Linked DNA regions of Homo sapiens: regions 1, 2, 4 and 5 are each linked to region 3. Evidence: promoter capture Hi-C in 16 types of primary human blood cells and fetal thymus (Javierre and others, 2016). All regions are on one chromosome and are shown on one strand. Each heading gives the region's core, a stretch centred on a gene start or on the middle of the fragment in contact. The rest is flanking DNA. Distances are from core to core; before and after follow the strand shown.

Region 1 (2,926 bases), core at 415-2,914, 400 kb before region 3:
GGTCCAGGTGGAGTGGGATAGAAAGAAGCCTCTACCCTGGCGCTCGCCTCTGCTTCTTTTGGCGATGTGGGGCCCTCAGGCTCCCCCGTGTCTCTGCAGAAAAAGAGGAAGAGGCGCGTGTATAAAGTGCGAACGTCTGAGACCTCGGATCCGGCGTCGGGTGAGCGCCTCTCCCTGTCCGGGTCCTGCTCTGGGAACTCGAGGGAGGGGAAGGCAGAGCCACAAGCGAGCCGCAGCCACTGGGCTCATGTTCCCTTCCCTTGCGCAGGGCCTAGGGCCCCCAGCCGCCGCTCCAGCTCGTCGACGGATTCCGCGGACGCCAGCCCTGTGCACGCCGCTGGCCCTGCCGGCGCCTACCACTCGGCGTCGGCAGAGTCCGTGGACGAGATTCCAGTGGCGCAGACGCGCCTGGGCAGCGCCGCTCTGGCCGCCCCGCGGGGCCGGGGCCGACAGCCCACGCTGGCGCGGCAGGCGCGTGCGCCCGCCGTTTTCGTGAGCCCGAGCAGCGGCGAGCCCAGGGCGCCGGGCGGCCGGGAGGCTGGTCTGGCTTAGCTGGGCCGAGAGGCCGGAGGGCCGAGTTAGAGCGGCCGGCCTGACTCTCTATGCAACACCCCATCCTTGCCGCACCGAGTGCACTTTAGGGGCCCCTACGGCCGGCGGGATCGGCCTCCCTCCCCCACGACTCAGCAATACCCGCCCCACCGGCTGTGATGCTCCAATAAACTTTTTTATGCTTTTGCGGACGTCGCGCTTACTTTCTTAATGGCAGGGGCCACGGGCCATCCAGAAGCCCGACCCTGGCCAGTGGACCGGGGGCGGGGAGGAGGTCCCTGTATAGTAGGTAGCCACCCAGGCTGCCCTGTGGAGGTGCTCACGTGCGGCTCGTGGTTAGGAAAGGCCTTAGAAGGCGGCCTGGAGGAGGTTATTTTTCTTAAAGATGGGCTTTGCACTGGGAGGCCGAGAGAAAGCAGGCTTTGGGCTCCGAAAGCAGCAGTGGGCGCTGAGGCTGCGAGGCCGTGGGGAGGTGGCGGCGAAAGGAGGGGGCCGAGCCAGGAGGTCCCGCAGCTTTTCCCCGGCAGCAGGGCTGCCGTCGAATGCCAGCATCCTGGGGCTGGGCGAGCGCGATTCGCTCGTAGGGAGTCCCCTCCCTTCTTCCCCACTGCTCCAGGCTCTGAATCCTACCCAAGAGAGCACGGGAGTTGTGGCCTGGGGGTGCCATCCGTTCAGTGGATGGCAGTGCTCTTGAGTCAACCGTATACCCCTGTCACTGAGGGAGAGCTCCTTCCCGATTCCCCAAGCCCCACCAATGCCCCGCGCAGCTCCCCAGTGGCCTCTGGTTGACTCTCTGGGGAGCTGGATCTCTTCTGGAGATTGGGGCCGCTTAGAGCTTTAGGCACATCCCAGGATGGGAGGCTGTTTCCTCAGGGGGCCGTCCGAAGACGCCCCGAACTGCAGAGCGCTGGTCTCGCCGTCGCGAGGACCGCGGAGTTGCGGGGGAGGGGCGGGATGCGGCTCCCGGAGAGTCTCGGGGAGGGCGGGGCCTCGTGGGCGGGGCCGGCGTGACCTTGGTCACTCTCCCGCCGAGACAGCCTCGGGGGTGGGACTCGCCGTCTCTATGGAGACCGAGAAACAGGGGATAATACGGCGGAGCCGCCTGGGCTGCAGTCCCACCCGGGAGCCGGCAGGGAGCGGAGCTGCGGAGCCGCCTGGTCTCCCGCGTCCATCGGTCCATTCCTGCGTCGTTCTGTCCTTCCGAACGCACACTTCAGGAGCAGCCGCGAGGTAGAAGCCCATAGGAGACCCAGATGCCCGCCACCCCAATCAGTATCCTGCACGATGAGGGTTGGGGGGAGCAGCCTGGAAAGGGTCCCAACCTCCGGCGGTCCCAGCCGAGGAGCCAGCTGAGCGGCCCTGCCCTGGCCCCAAGCATTCCACCTCGCAGCCCCCACCTCCTGGTCCGGCTGATTGATGACTCCAGCTGTCCCAGTGGGAGCGGGACGGGTGGCTCCAGTTCACGGGTGTGGCCACTCCATCCATGGCCTGCAGACCCATGGGGCTGCGGCCTGCAACCCAGCGCCACCTGACCGCGCTGAGATGACCAAGAATCCATCTTTCCACGGACAGGAGTGAGCACTGCACGCAGGATCCGCCCAGTGCTTGGGCCAAGCACCCTGTGGCATCCAAGCTCCCCTGGACGTTACCCTTGGTGAACCAAGTGCGGGTCTTGGGGTCCCTGGTGGGAGGTTGCACCCAGGGAAAGGGAAGGGGAGTGCAGCGTGGACTGGGGTTATGGTCCCTGTAACGTAGGAACCACCGGTGCTCACAGTCCCAGAAACTGCCACTTAGGGATGGGAGTGTGGTCACTGGCGAGGAGTTTTTGGTGGAAGATGGGGCAGCCGGGCAGAGCCCAGGCCGTGGTCACTGGAAGCCCTAGTGTAAAAGGCAGAGCTAGAAGATGGTTGCTGAGACCGAGGGTGTGGTCAGGAGGTGGCAGTGGAGGAGGGGGATGTGGTGGGGAGGTCTCTACGCAGGGGATCTCCGCATAGTACCTGGGAGTCTTATAATGTTAGTGTGTGGATGTGGACTGGGGCCTTCAGTGCAGGCTGAGGGTGTGGCCAGAGGGCTGAGGGTGTGTGGACAAAGGGGTGCTGAGGGTCAGGGCGCCTTGATAAAGGGCTGCGGGTATTGGAGGGGGTGAGTGGCTGAGGCTATGGTCAGGGGTCTCAGGAAGGGATGCAGGTTTGTGGCCAGGGGCCTCAGCCCCAGGGCTGCGGGTGTGGGGATGGAGAAGGCTGCTGTGTAGGCTCAGGGTGTGGCCAGGGGTCTGCAGCGGAGGGCTGTGGGTGTGGGGGGCACTTTAGTGCTGGACTGTGGGTATTACTGGGGTTGGCGCAGGCTTGTTAGTATATATGTGGGGGCTGGTGGC
Region 2 (2,700 bases), core at 32-2,531, 340 kb before region 3:
TTTTCAGCAAAAGTTCTTACTTTCACTGTCTCTTCCCCTCAAATATCATTTCCCTTTTTCATCCCACTCCAATCTGGTTTCCCTCCTCCCCACCCTCCCAAAACTCCCTCTGTCAAGGTCACCAGTAAGTTCCATGTTGCTAAATCTAACAGACACTCTGCATTTAAGTTGCTCAGCCTGTCAATAGCATTTGGCACAGTTGGCCATTGCTTGCTCGATACACTACCCCTTCTCAAATTCCAAGATACCACATTCTTCCTCTATACAACCTCTAAACACTGAAATATTCCAAGGTTGAGTCTTAAGCTTTCTTTCACTTCTCCATCGACATTCTCTCCTTAGCTGAGTTCATCCACTCCCGTAGCTTTAAATACCACCTATTGCTAATGTCTCCAAAATTTTCATCTCTAACCCTGACCTCTCCTCTGAGGTCCAGACCCATATATCCAACTGCCTACTAGGTACCTTACACTTGGATGTCTAATAGACATTTTATTATTTATTTATTTTATTTATTATTATTATTTTTGAGATGGAGTCTCGCTCTGTCGCCCAGGCTGCAGTGCAGTGGTGCGATCTCGGCTAACTGCAACCTCCGCCTCCCGGGTTCAAGCGATTCTCCTGCCTCAGCCTCCCGAGTAGCTGGGATTATAGACTTGAACCACCACGCCGGGCTAATTTTTGTATTTTAGTAGAGACGGGGTTTCACCATGTTGGCCACGCTCAGGTGATCCACCCGCCTCCGCCTCCCAAAGTGCTGGGATTACAGCGGTCAGCCACCGCCCCCCGCAGTTCTGTCACCTGCGGCAGGGTCCCCTGTTAACCTTGTTTCTCCTTCCCTACTTCACACTCCCCTCTTCTCTCTCAATTCCTCGGGCTCTGCCCCACACCCTCCCGTTACTTCAGTTCCTCCACCTCCACCTCCCTCTAACCTTCTGCCTCAAGTTATCCCCCCGCCCCCCAGCCTCAGGTACCGCTTCTCTGTGGTTCCCTCGCCTCTATCTCAGGTTCCCCGCCTTCCACTTCAGTTTTCTTTCCACAGCTTCTGACCCTACGTTCCCAGTCCACACCCTCCCGGCCAGACCCTACCCGGCTGCTCCAGCGTCAGCGCCCCCAGGCGGCGAATGCCTTCCTCGTCCAGCTCCCATTGCTCCGCCATCCCCGCCCGCCGCTCACCTGCCACCGCCCGCGAGACCACCCGGCGCACGCCAGGCCCCGCCCACTGCCCCGCCCCCCGCGCGCGCGCCGCCGCGACCCCGGGAACCGTTATTGGCCGGGTCACAAGCCCGCCCGCCCGCTGCTGGAGCCGCGACCATGGTACGGAGCCCGCTCTGGCGGGGGCGCCAAAAGCACCAAAGCGGCGAATGGGGGCCGCTGTGGCCAAGGATTGGGGCTAAGTGGTTCGAGACCTGGCTCTGGGGCATGGGAGAGAGCGAGGGGCCCCCAGCCGGGAAGGATTTGGGGGGCTGGCTCTGAGGAGTTAGAATAACGCTCTGTCTTGAGGGATGAAGTGTTCTGGCTCTGAGGATGTGGGGGACTCCGGTTCTGAGGGCTGGGCGTGTGCCCCTTTGACGGGGTGGTCTTCATATCTCAGCGCTGGGGGATGCTGACTTTGGGGCAAGGCGAGGGTGTGTGTGAAGGGGAGATCCAAATCTGAAGGATTGGAGCGTGGGGACAGAACTCTAAGGCATGATGGGGAGCTCCAGATCTGAAAGGTTGGGAATCCTGGCTCTGAGGAGTTGGGGTCCTGTCTTTAGAGCATGAGGAAGTTCTAGCTCTAGAAATTGACTTGGACGGGCTGGGCGCGGTGTCTCACGCCTGTAATCCCAGCACTTTGGGAGCCCGAGGTGGGCGGATCACCTGAGGTCAAGAGTTCAAGACCAGCCTGGCCAACATGGTGAAACCCCATCTCTACTAAAAATACAAAAATTAGCCGGGTGTGGTGGCACGGCCTGTAGTCCCAGCTACTCGGGAGGCTGAGGCAGGAGAATCGCTTGAACCCGGGAGGTGGAGGTTGCAGTGAACCGAGATTGCACCACTGCACTCCAGCCTGGGCGACCTGAGTGACAGAGCCAGACCTTGTCTCAAAAAAAAAAAAAAAAAAAAGGTAAGAAATTTACTTGGACGGAGCTTCTTCGGGGGAGAAGGATCAGCGTGGGAAAGAGAGAAGCTCTTTGTAATGGGGTGGGGATGACTGCTTTAGGGCTACCCCGTTTCCTGAAGTCAGTCCGGCAAGAAGCCTTTTGTCTTTCAAGCACCACAGGTTCCCCTAAGCTTGCCTGTGACTGAGGGCTGTCGCCAGGCTGCGATAGCTCTGCACTAACCAGCCCCTGAGTAGTCTTTGGGAAAGAACAGCCGCATCCCTAACCCCTACCCTCACTCCAGCAGGCACTTAAGAGCCCACCTGTGGATGGGACATGTATGTAAGAAGGAGCCAGGACCCTCTTGTCACACCCTATCCTTAACAAGAAAAGAGGGTGGGCTGGGCGTGGTGGCTCACGTCTGTAATCCCAGCACTTTGGGAGGCCGAAGCATGTGGATCACGAGGTCAGGAGATCGAGACCATCCTGGCTAACACAGTGAAACCCCATCTCTACTAAAAATACAAAAATAAAACAAAATAAAATAAAATAAAATAAAATAAAGCCGGGCGTGGTGGCGGGCGCCTGTAGTCCCAGCTACTTGAGGAGGCTGGAGGCT
Region 3 (2,943 bases), core at 176-2,675:
AAGCGGAGTAAGCAAAGTTTCCTTCAAATTTAAAATAATGGATATATGTATATATGGGCAAAATTTATTTATGATAGAGGTCAGACTAGTGGTAACTTTGAGTATTGACTGAGAAGGAGTACATGGGACGCTGGAGATGGTTTTTTGTTTTTTTTTTTGAGATAGAGTTTCGCTCTTGTTGCCCAGGCTGGAGTGCAATGGCACGATCTCGGCTCACTACAACCTCTGCCTCCTGGCTTCAAGCGATTCTCCTGCCTCAGCCTCCTGAGTAGCTGGGATTACAGGCATGTGCCACCATGCCTGGCTAGTTTTGTATTTTTAGTAGAGACGGGGTAATAATATTGGTTAGGCTGGTCTCAAACTCCTGACCTCAGGTGATCTGCCCGCTTCGGCCTCCCAAAGTGCTGGGATTACAGGTGTATCCTTGTAAGTTAAAAAAACTTTTTAAAAAATGTTTTTTAAAAATAGAGACAGAGTCTATTTACCCAGGCTAGGTCTCACTATTTGCCCAGGCTGGTCTCAAACTCCTGGGCTCAAGTAATCCTCCCACCTCAGCCTCTCAAAGTGCTGGAATTACAGGCATGAGCTACCATGCCTAACCCACTGGAAATGTTCTAGATGTTGATCTGGATAATGGTTACCATATATATATATATAATAATTAGTATAATAGATATAATTATACAGTGAAGATGTGTGCACCTTGCTGTATACATCTTATACCTCAGTAAACTTTTGTTAATGTATTAGATTGTTTTCACAGTAAAAAGTGTAGTACTCATTTTAAAAAGAAAGATATTGGGGAGAAATTTGAAGGTGGTAAAGAGGTTCATGTAGCAGAGAGGGGGCAGAGACAGGCCTCCTGCTTAGGAGAAGGAAAGAAGGATGGAAGGAAGGAAAAAGGTGGGAAGGAAGAAAAGATGTGGCCATGTTCTCAGACCCCTTCACCTGTGCCGGGAGGCAGGAAATACAGAGAAGCCCTGAGGTTCAGGGAGGCTAAAGGACTTGTCCAGACTCCCAGCTGGTAGATGGTTTAGTGTCCTGAAACCCTACCCTCCATTTGCCCAGGCCTTGTCTAAGTGCTCCTGCCCTGCTGTCCCCAGGAGAGGTTGAACTGGGGCCTGTCCCTCCATCCCTTGTGCCCGTCTTGCCTGACACTCTCGGGAAGGGGTGGGGGTCTTACCCAAGGCCGTCTGCGCCATCAGGCAGAGGGTGAGGCTCCAGCACAGAATCCACCTCATGCTCCAGCCAGCTCCTGCTGTGGGCAGGAGTGATGGCAACACTGTGGATGGCAACACTGTGGATGGCATGGTAGCCGTGTCTACAGTGTGTGAGCACACTTTTATCTGCTCTTAATCCCTGCCAGCAAGTACTGGGGCGGGAGGAATTGTAACCAGCTTCTGACCAGCCCACAGCCTTGTCTCTGCCTTGGGCAACAGGTCACGCTAGATGATCTTGGCTCTTCAAACTGATCAGCCTGCAATCTCCGCCCCGTTTGCTCATCTGTGCAGTGGCTTAAAGCTGAACATGTGTGAGTCAAGGTCTAAGCATACAGTGGGTGCCAAGATTGAAGTAGAACACCTGGTTACTTGGCCCTTCAGCCAGGGCTTCCTGTCTGTGGATTTAAGGGTCTTGGGCCTCCCTGCTCCCCAGTGCCTCGTCTAGCCTCTTCCCTGCCTTTCCTCGCACATGCTGACCCTTGGCTGTCCTCACAGTTTCATAGTCCACATGCGGAAGCTGGACCTGAAAGCAACCGTAATGTGGGAGCCCAGAGGGGCACCCGAGGAGTGAGCCCAGAGCCGGGTGGTGGGAATGAAGATTCCCTGGAAAAGATCTAATCTTCTAAGTAAAGGATGAGGAGGAGTGGGCCAGGCAAAGAAAGATCCTGTTTGAAGTTTGGAGCCACAGGAGCAAGTGTGGGAGGTGGAAGCAAGGAGACAGCAGTCCCATCTTCAGTCAAAGGTAAGATGGGGCTGGGTGTGGTGGCTCATGCCTGTAATACCAGCACTTTGGAAGGCTGAGGCAGGTGGATCACCTGAGGTCAGGAGTTCGAGACCAGCCTGGCCAACATGGTGAAACCCCGTCTCTACTAAAACAAAGAATACAAAAATTAGCTGGGCGTGGTAGTGTGTGCCTGTAGTCCCAGCTACTCAGGAGGCTGAGGCAGGAGGATGGCTTGAACCTGGGAGGCGGAGGTTGTAGTGAGCCGAGATCGGGCCACTGCACTCCAGCCTGGGTGACAGAGTGAGACCCTGTCTCAAAAATAAATAGGCCAGGCACGGTGGCTCATGCCTGTAATCCCAACACTTTGGGAGGCTGAGGCAGGCGGGTCACGAGGTCAGAAGATCGAGACCATCCTGGCTAACACCCCGTCCCTACTAAAAATACAAAAAATTATCCGGGCGTGGTGGCACGCGCCCGTAGTTCCAGCTACTCAGGAGGCTGAGGCAAGAGAATTGCTTGAAACCAGGAGGCGGAGCTTGCAGTGAGCCAAGATGGCGTCACTGTACTCCAGCCTGGGCGACAGAGTGAGACTCCATCTCAAAGAACAAAAAAAAGGTAAGATGTTTCCTCTCTCGTGTACCCCCAAAGTCTGGGGTCCTGGCCCATCTTTGTGAAAAGAGGGTCTGTTGGGCTTCTGTGCTGGGGAGGGGAAAAGGCAGGGGAACAGAGAACTTCTCCCTTGGCCCACAGCCTCTTGCTCTATAGGCCTGACAGATGGTTAAACCTCCTTCTTTCACAGTCAATTTTCTGAGTTCTTCGGAGATGCTCTTTATTTGGGACTCCTCTCCCACAGTTCCCATCCTTGTGACCCTTCCTCAGTCCCAAGGAATGTGGCATTCACTGCCCAATCATTGCTGCCTGGGCTCTGTGCTCCTCTAATGAAGGCCCAAGATGACCCCCCACCCCTGCCTCTGCCACTTATCCTGTGGGGTCTACATG
Region 4 (2,700 bases), core at 160-2,659, 440 kb before region 3:
CCAAGGCCCCACTCAAGGATTTCCTCCTCCGGAAAATTCTCCCAGCCCCATCTGATCACACAGGGCCCCTACTAGACCGAGGTCTCTGAGAAGCCAGGTTGCTGGCTGCCCCAGCAAAGGCCCAGCGCAAGGACAAAGCCTGGAGCACCTGTCCAAAGCCGTGGGTATTGGCGAGAGACCAGGCTGCTCCTCCCACGATGCAATGGAGTCAGTGCCCCCTGGCCTTTCTCCCCCTCCCCACTTCCGGCGGGCCTCCAGCCCCCCCCCCCCTTCCCCTTCCCTCCCTCTGGTGACAGATTTATTCCCTGCTCCAGACAAAGGAGCTCAGCTAGGCGGCCAGAGGCACCTGAGCCCAGCTCTCTAAGAGCTCCTTCCTGGGCACAGAGGACCAGGAGGGCTTGGGGGTGGGGTGCTGGGTGTAGGCTCCAAACTACTGCCTCAGCAGTTTGGCAGTGGGTGGCTAGACAGAAAGACAGCTGAATGTCCAGCTGCCCCTCACGGTGACCTCTAGCTTTTCTGAACTCCAAGGATCCCAGCCAGTGGGGGATGGGTGGGGTGGGGAAGTTCCCCATCTAAGCTCTTCCCTCTGGCCCGAGGAATGGGAGATGGGTATCTTAGGTGGGGATGTCAGGCAGAGTTCAAGGGGTAACGATCCTCCCTTCTCAAGGCCTCCGAAGTCCCCTGAGACTGCTCTCTTGGGGAAGGGAATGGCATAAACTCTCAAACTCCAGGAGGTTCCCTCTTCTCAGCCACCAGTCAGTTTCCTTCTCGAACCGGCCCACTCCCTGTCTCACTTTCCCTCCAACACTCCCCGCAGCGGCAGGTAGTGAACCCGGGCTTGGGGAGGTGCCCGGCGCTCCCTATTTGGCTCGCTCCCTGCACCCAGGGGTGGAGAACTCTCCCACTCTTGCGCTGAGGAGCCCGCCTTGGCTGTGCCCATGGGGAGTCAGTCCTGTTGAGTGTCCAGTCCCGCCCTCGAGCCTGGAGTCCCCGCGCTCCGCGACCCGCGCACTCACCGGTGATGAGCACCGCGCGAGTGGCCACCGGCAGGCGCTGCGGGCGCGCCAGGCGGGACAACGCGATCCAGCCGGCGGCGGCCAGCACGGCGAGTGCGGCCGGCGGGGGCAGCAGGCGCTGGCACAGCCAGTCGAGCGCGGCCAGCAGCGCCAGCGCCGCCAGCAGCGGGCGGCCCAGACGCAGGTCTGAGCGCAGCAGCTGCAGCAGCGCGCGGGCAGCCACGAGCAGCCAGGCGCCGCCCGACGGCCAAGGCCAGCGCTCCATGGCGGCCCAGCGGGCTGGGGCGGGGCGGGGCGGGGGCCGGGCCGGGGAGCGGGGAGAGAGAGCTTCTAGGCCGGGGCGCGGAGTGCGGGGGTACACCGGCCTGGGGCGCGAGAGGGACACTCGCTTTCTCTGCTCGCCCTCGGGCCGAGCTTATGAAGAGCCCCGGGGGCGGGGGAGAGGGCGGGGAGCGGGAGGGGCGGGGGCGGGGCTTTCCTTCACTTCTCTCCCGGCACCCCCCGCAGGGCAGGTGCTCCCCCCCCGCCCCGCCCCCTCGACCAGATTCGATTTGGAAAAAGCCGGAACAAAGTCCCAAAGTTGCTGCGCTCGAGGAGCCGCCTGGCTGCGGGCGGTGCTTGGGAGAGGGCCCGTCGGTCCAGCCCGGGTGCCCGGCCTCAGCTCTCCGCCGCGCCCCCACCCACACGCCCGGGGCCGCCAAGCCGCCGCGCTCAGGTGAGCACATGCCACTCACGCTTGTTCGGGACACCTGAGGACACGCACAACCGGCATCCCGGTGCCCTTTGCTGATCGCACCACCGCGGCCGCCAAGCCTGCAGGAACACCGCGAGGAACCAGCCGGTGCTCACCCGGTCTCCGCTGCCGCTGCCGCTGCCGCCCGCGCCCGTACACGCGCCGCACTCCCACGTGGTCGGCTGCGCCAGGTCCCTGGCGCACACACCCTAAGGCGCGCTCACCCCTGAGCAGCTCGCGGCCACAAAACCTGCCTGGGACAGGGGCTGGCGGGGGAACAGGACGACCGCTCCCGGTTCTTGGAGTCTCTGCCCCGTCTTTCCCTTTCCTTCCAGGGCTTAAACCTGGGGACGCACAACCCCACTTCCTGCCTCACAAATGTATGTGTGTGGGGGTCAGTGGAGGGTGGGGTGTCAGAGGAAGCACCTAGGTCTCCCATTACTTATGGCCCACCCCCGCCAACCCCAAGAGCCAGGCCAGAGGGACGTCGGTGAAGGCAGCCTCTAGGACAGGGTGGTCCCTGCCTTGCTCCCCTGAACCCCCAGGGGGTAAAATAAGTGGTATGAGTGTGGGTGGATTTTTCTGCCTGCGTGTGTGAAGGTCTCCATGCTTGTGTGTGGCCCAGTGGCCCCCCACCCTGCCCACCCCCGTGTCTGGCACCCTGTGCCTAGCATCCATGCCAGGGCTCTGCCAGGCACTGGGAGTTGGTGCCAGTACCTGGCTGCAGGCTTGATGCTGAGAGCAGTAGGTGTAGCCCTCGACAGAGGGGTCCCTGCTTCCCGTGGGCTTCCAGGCCGTGCTCAGTGCCTCATCCCTGCCCTCCCAAGATCCTGGGAGGTTGTGGACTCCCTGTCACACTTCCTAGCCCTGTTGCTCATTCTCTCTTAGGTGCCCAGGCTCTGCCAGGGTTTCAGGGCAATGCCTCCTCCAAAGCCCTCTCTGCCACCAGAC
Region 5 (2,824 bases), core at 101-2,600, 290 kb before region 3:
CTGTGGGGAGGAAGCAGTGAACTCCTGCCGTATTGGGCCACTCCACCTCCACCGCCTCTAGGCCCGCCTGGCTACCTGGCAAGGTGGCCATACCACTGGCCAGCAGCTCCCAACAGAGGTCTTGGGCCAGGAGGCAGTCAGCAGGCTTAGGGAGGCCGGATCCACTGGGGGCTTGGGAAGGGAAATGACTTGGGTCTGCCTTGGACCACCTATCCAGAGACCCCTACTTGGACCCGGGCTTCAGCCTGAGTAGGGTCAGAGACCTCCAAAGTCTTGACACTCATCTCTCCAGGCATCCCCATTCCCTTCCCAGACTTCCCTAGCCCAGCCTTCCTTACCTGCCTCCAGCAGCTTTGATATTTCTGATAAAGGGTCTCCAAGGCCCACAGGGTCGCTGTCCAATGCCCCAGGGCTCAAGCCAGATGGCATCGCCCTGCTTGGACCTGGGTCCCCTACCAACCCTACCCCTGGGGTGTCACTCTCACCCTGTGCCAAGCTGAGGTGGGAGGACATGGGGCATAGGAGACTCTCCACTCCAGAGGGGCCTGGCCCTTCTGACAGGACTGAGGAGCTTTCTACTGTGCCCCTCTGGGCATCCCCCGACTCATCTGCAGCTGGGGGTAACTGGAATTTCCTGGACAAGGGGCTGCCCTGTAGCTCCTCATCCTGGGTGGCCCCGGCTGGTGGTCTTGGAGGACCTGGGTCCTTAACGTGCATCTGGGAAGCAGGTTCCTCCTCTTCCCAGGCATCCCTGAAACTGCACACAGCAAATCTCCAGTCGGTGGCATGGCCCTGAGAGTCTGGGGACTCATCCCCATTCTCCAGGGGCCTTTCCATCACGCCCTCCTAAAGGTGGGCCTGCTCGGGGCCAGCGGGAGAGGGCTGGGTCTCAGTGTGAACCGCGCTGAAGACAGTCGAGTGGGACTCAGTGGGCAATGCAGGCGAAGGGCATGGGCCGCAGGAGGTGCCAGTCTTAGTGCCAGGGCACAGGAACTGCAATTCAGGCCTGGGAAGAGGGAATAACGTTAAGGGTGTCCCTCTGTCCAGGTCCCCCGTCGGACGCCCGTGGGCCTCTGCTCCGTGCGCGCCCACCCTCAGCGTCCTCACGGCCACGCTCTGCAGGCCCATGCCCGTGGGGGCGGCCCCGCCATGGCACCACGATGCCTCGGGTTCGCTCTCCTGCCGGCCCCCCCAGGCCCTGGCCTTGTTGCAGGGCCTACCGCGCGCCCCCCCGTCGCCCGCTGGCGACACTCACGCCCCCGGGCCGAGCCGCGGGGAACCGTGAAGTCGGACAGCCTTCGAACAGACGGCGGCCTCGACGGCCACTACAGCGCGGCCGCGCGGCGTCACGGGACACCGCCTCCTGGCCGCTGGGAAGGGAGGGCAGTGCCGCCGGGGCGCCGCGCAGCGCCGCGCCGCCCCCTGGAGGCCGGAGGACGGAGCCACAGCCCGAGCAGGTCTCGACGGGGCACAGCCCTGCCGGCGCGGAAGACAAGGTGCGGGCCCTGCAGCAACCCCCGCCCGCCGCCGTCCTCTCCGTGGGCCCGGACAGCCCGCCAGCCCCGCCCCGCCGCACCCCCGGGCCCCGCAGACCGCGCGCCTCACCCGCGGCGTCGCAGTGCGTGGGTTGGGGCAGCGACCAACGGTCGGCAGCTCCACCGTGCCCACTCCCCGGGCCTGGCGAGGACGCCGGAAGCGCTCTCCCGCCAGGAAGGCCGCGTGGGTGAGCGAGGGTGAGTGCGCGGGGGGCACCGCGGGACGGGGCGGGGCGGGGTCTCCCAGGGGCTTCCGCGGCTGAATGAGCCGACGGGAGGGGAAGGCCTTCTGTGTAGGGAAGCGGGGTGCTGCCTCGCCGCGGGCACCCAGAGACAGGTCGCATGATCCCACGTGGGATGGGGCTGCCATCCGGGTGGGAGTGAGACCAATGGGTGGAGCTGACCCAGGCCTGCCAGAGTCCACCAGATCCTCTACCCCTTTGCCATCCCTGGCACCCCCTTACCCCCTTCTCCACAAAGTCCGGTGCAGGAGGCTGGTGCTGAGGTGGGGTTCTGGAGCCAGAGCCCCCAGCCCAGGCCTGGCTTCTCCACTTACCTGCTGGGGGCGCTCCAGGAACTCTGCTCTTTGAGCCTCACCCTCCTCACCTGTAAAAATGGAAAGTCATTTTTCTCCTGGGGTTGCCGTGAGGACTGGGGAAGACTCCCTGTGTTATACGTTCACCCGCTGCCAGCACTCGGGCTGTGTTGGTGCCCTGCCCCCTCATTTCACCCGCAGTCAGGGAATCCTGAACTGATGAAAGCTACCCAAGTGGGTAGCTGTGCGATTTGAGGTCCCTTTAGGGCATGTGGGCCTGGCCCGACACTCCCCAGAATTTGTGGGAAGATTGTGGGAAGGTCAGCTCTGCGACCAGGAGAAGACCCTGAGCCCCACAGTGTGCCCAGGCCCATGGTCCCTGGGGAGAGGGGGCACCGGGTGCAACGGCTTCCCTGGCTCTAAGGCAGGCACCTCTTTCATGAACCTGGGGATTACAACAGGCACAGTGGGACCAACAGCAATCTCCCCACCCAGCCCAGCCCAGCCCCCAGAGTCCAGACTTTCAGGCAGCTACCGAGGAGCCTTCTTCATGAGCAGGTCTGGCTGCCAGAGGGGAGCCTTGGAGTTGTCCTGCTCCATCCCTAACTCCCAGCCAGACCTCTCTTCCCACCCTCCTGGCTTCAGGAAGCATCATCCAACCTTGGCTTCCTCCCCAGTTCTGTCCCAGGGCCACCCCCACTGAGTCACTGCCTTCTGCTCCCTCCCTCCCCTTCTGCTGCCCACCAGCACCCAC

The links. The method cuts DNA at HindIII sites, captures the fragments that hold promoters and counts their contacts. A CHiCAGO score of 5 or more calls a contact.
Region 1: the fragment with the promoter of TPPP3 here is called in contact with the fragment with the promoter of CES4A in region 3 in 1 of 17 cell types (erythroblasts); the score reaches 5.1 in erythroblasts.
Region 2: the fragment with the promoter of KCTD19 here is called in contact with the fragment with the promoter of CES4A in region 3 in 12 of 17 cell types (erythroblasts, neutrophils, monocytes and 9 more); the score reaches 9.9 in erythroblasts.
Region 4: a contact is called between the fragment with the promoter of HSD11B2 here and the fragment with the promoter of CES4A in region 3, in 13 of 17 cell types (erythroblasts, neutrophils, total B cells and 10 more). The highest score is 15.2, in erythroblasts.
Region 5: a contact is called between the fragment with the promoter of PLEKHG4 here and the fragment with the promoter of CES4A in region 3, in 2 of 17 cell types (neutrophils and naive CD4 T cells). The highest score is 7.1, in neutrophils.

What each region holds. Positions count from the first base shown.
Region 1 is chr16:67,392,236-67,395,161 of GRCh38, reverse strand. It overlaps TPPP3 (tubulin polymerization promoting protein family member 3), which reads left to right and starts at 1,664. Exons shown (of 4, transcript NM_015964.4): 1 at 1,664-1,782. ZDHHC1 (zDHHC palmitoyltransferase 1) reads left to right here. Exons shown (of 12, transcript NM_001323627.2): 11 at 100-160; 12 at 269-1,010. The coding sequence ends at 552. The HindIII fragment of the contact is 5,780 bases long and covers 1-2,926 here.
Region 2 is chr16:67,325,322-67,328,021 of GRCh38, reverse strand. KCTD19 (potassium channel tetramerization domain containing 19) reads left to right here and starts at 1,281. Exons shown (of 16, transcript NM_001100915.3): 1 at 1,281-1,317. The coding sequence starts at 1,315. It overlaps LRRC36 (leucine rich repeat containing 36), which reads right to left and starts at 1,207. Exons shown (of 14, transcript NM_018296.6): 1 at 1,090-1,207. The coding sequence starts at 1,159. RefSeq lists a silencer at 1,165-1,314. The HindIII fragment of the contact is 1,968 bases long and covers 309-2,276 here.
Region 3 is chr16:66,987,071-66,990,013 of GRCh38, reverse strand. CES4A (carboxylesterase 4A) reads right to left here and starts at 1,425. Exons shown (of 14, transcript NM_001364782.1): 1 at 1,184-1,425. The coding sequence starts at 1,241. The HindIII fragment of the contact is 37,432 bases long and covers 1-2,943 here.
Region 4 is chr16:67,429,830-67,432,529 of GRCh38, reverse strand. HSD11B2 (hydroxysteroid 11-beta dehydrogenase 2) reads right to left here and starts at 1,409. Exons shown (of 5, transcript NM_000196.4): 1 at 1,017-1,409. The coding sequence starts at 1,281. RefSeq lists silencers at 1,291-1,470, 1,691-1,740. The HindIII fragment of the contact is 16,145 bases long and covers 1-2,700 here.
Region 5 is chr16:67,278,058-67,280,881 of GRCh38, reverse strand. PLEKHG4 (pleckstrin homology and RhoGEF domain containing G4) reads right to left here and starts at 1,350. Exons shown (of 22, transcript NM_001129729.3): 1 at 1,256-1,350; 2 at 339-1,006; 3 at 76-171. The coding sequence starts at 837. It overlaps LOC124903701 (a long non-coding RNA gene), which reads left to right and starts at 1,471. Exons shown (of 3, transcript XR_007065092.1): 1 at 1,471-1,733. RefSeq lists silencers at 1,317-1,498, 1,218-1,647, 1,698-1,857. The HindIII fragment of the contact is 13,408 bases long and covers 1-2,824 here.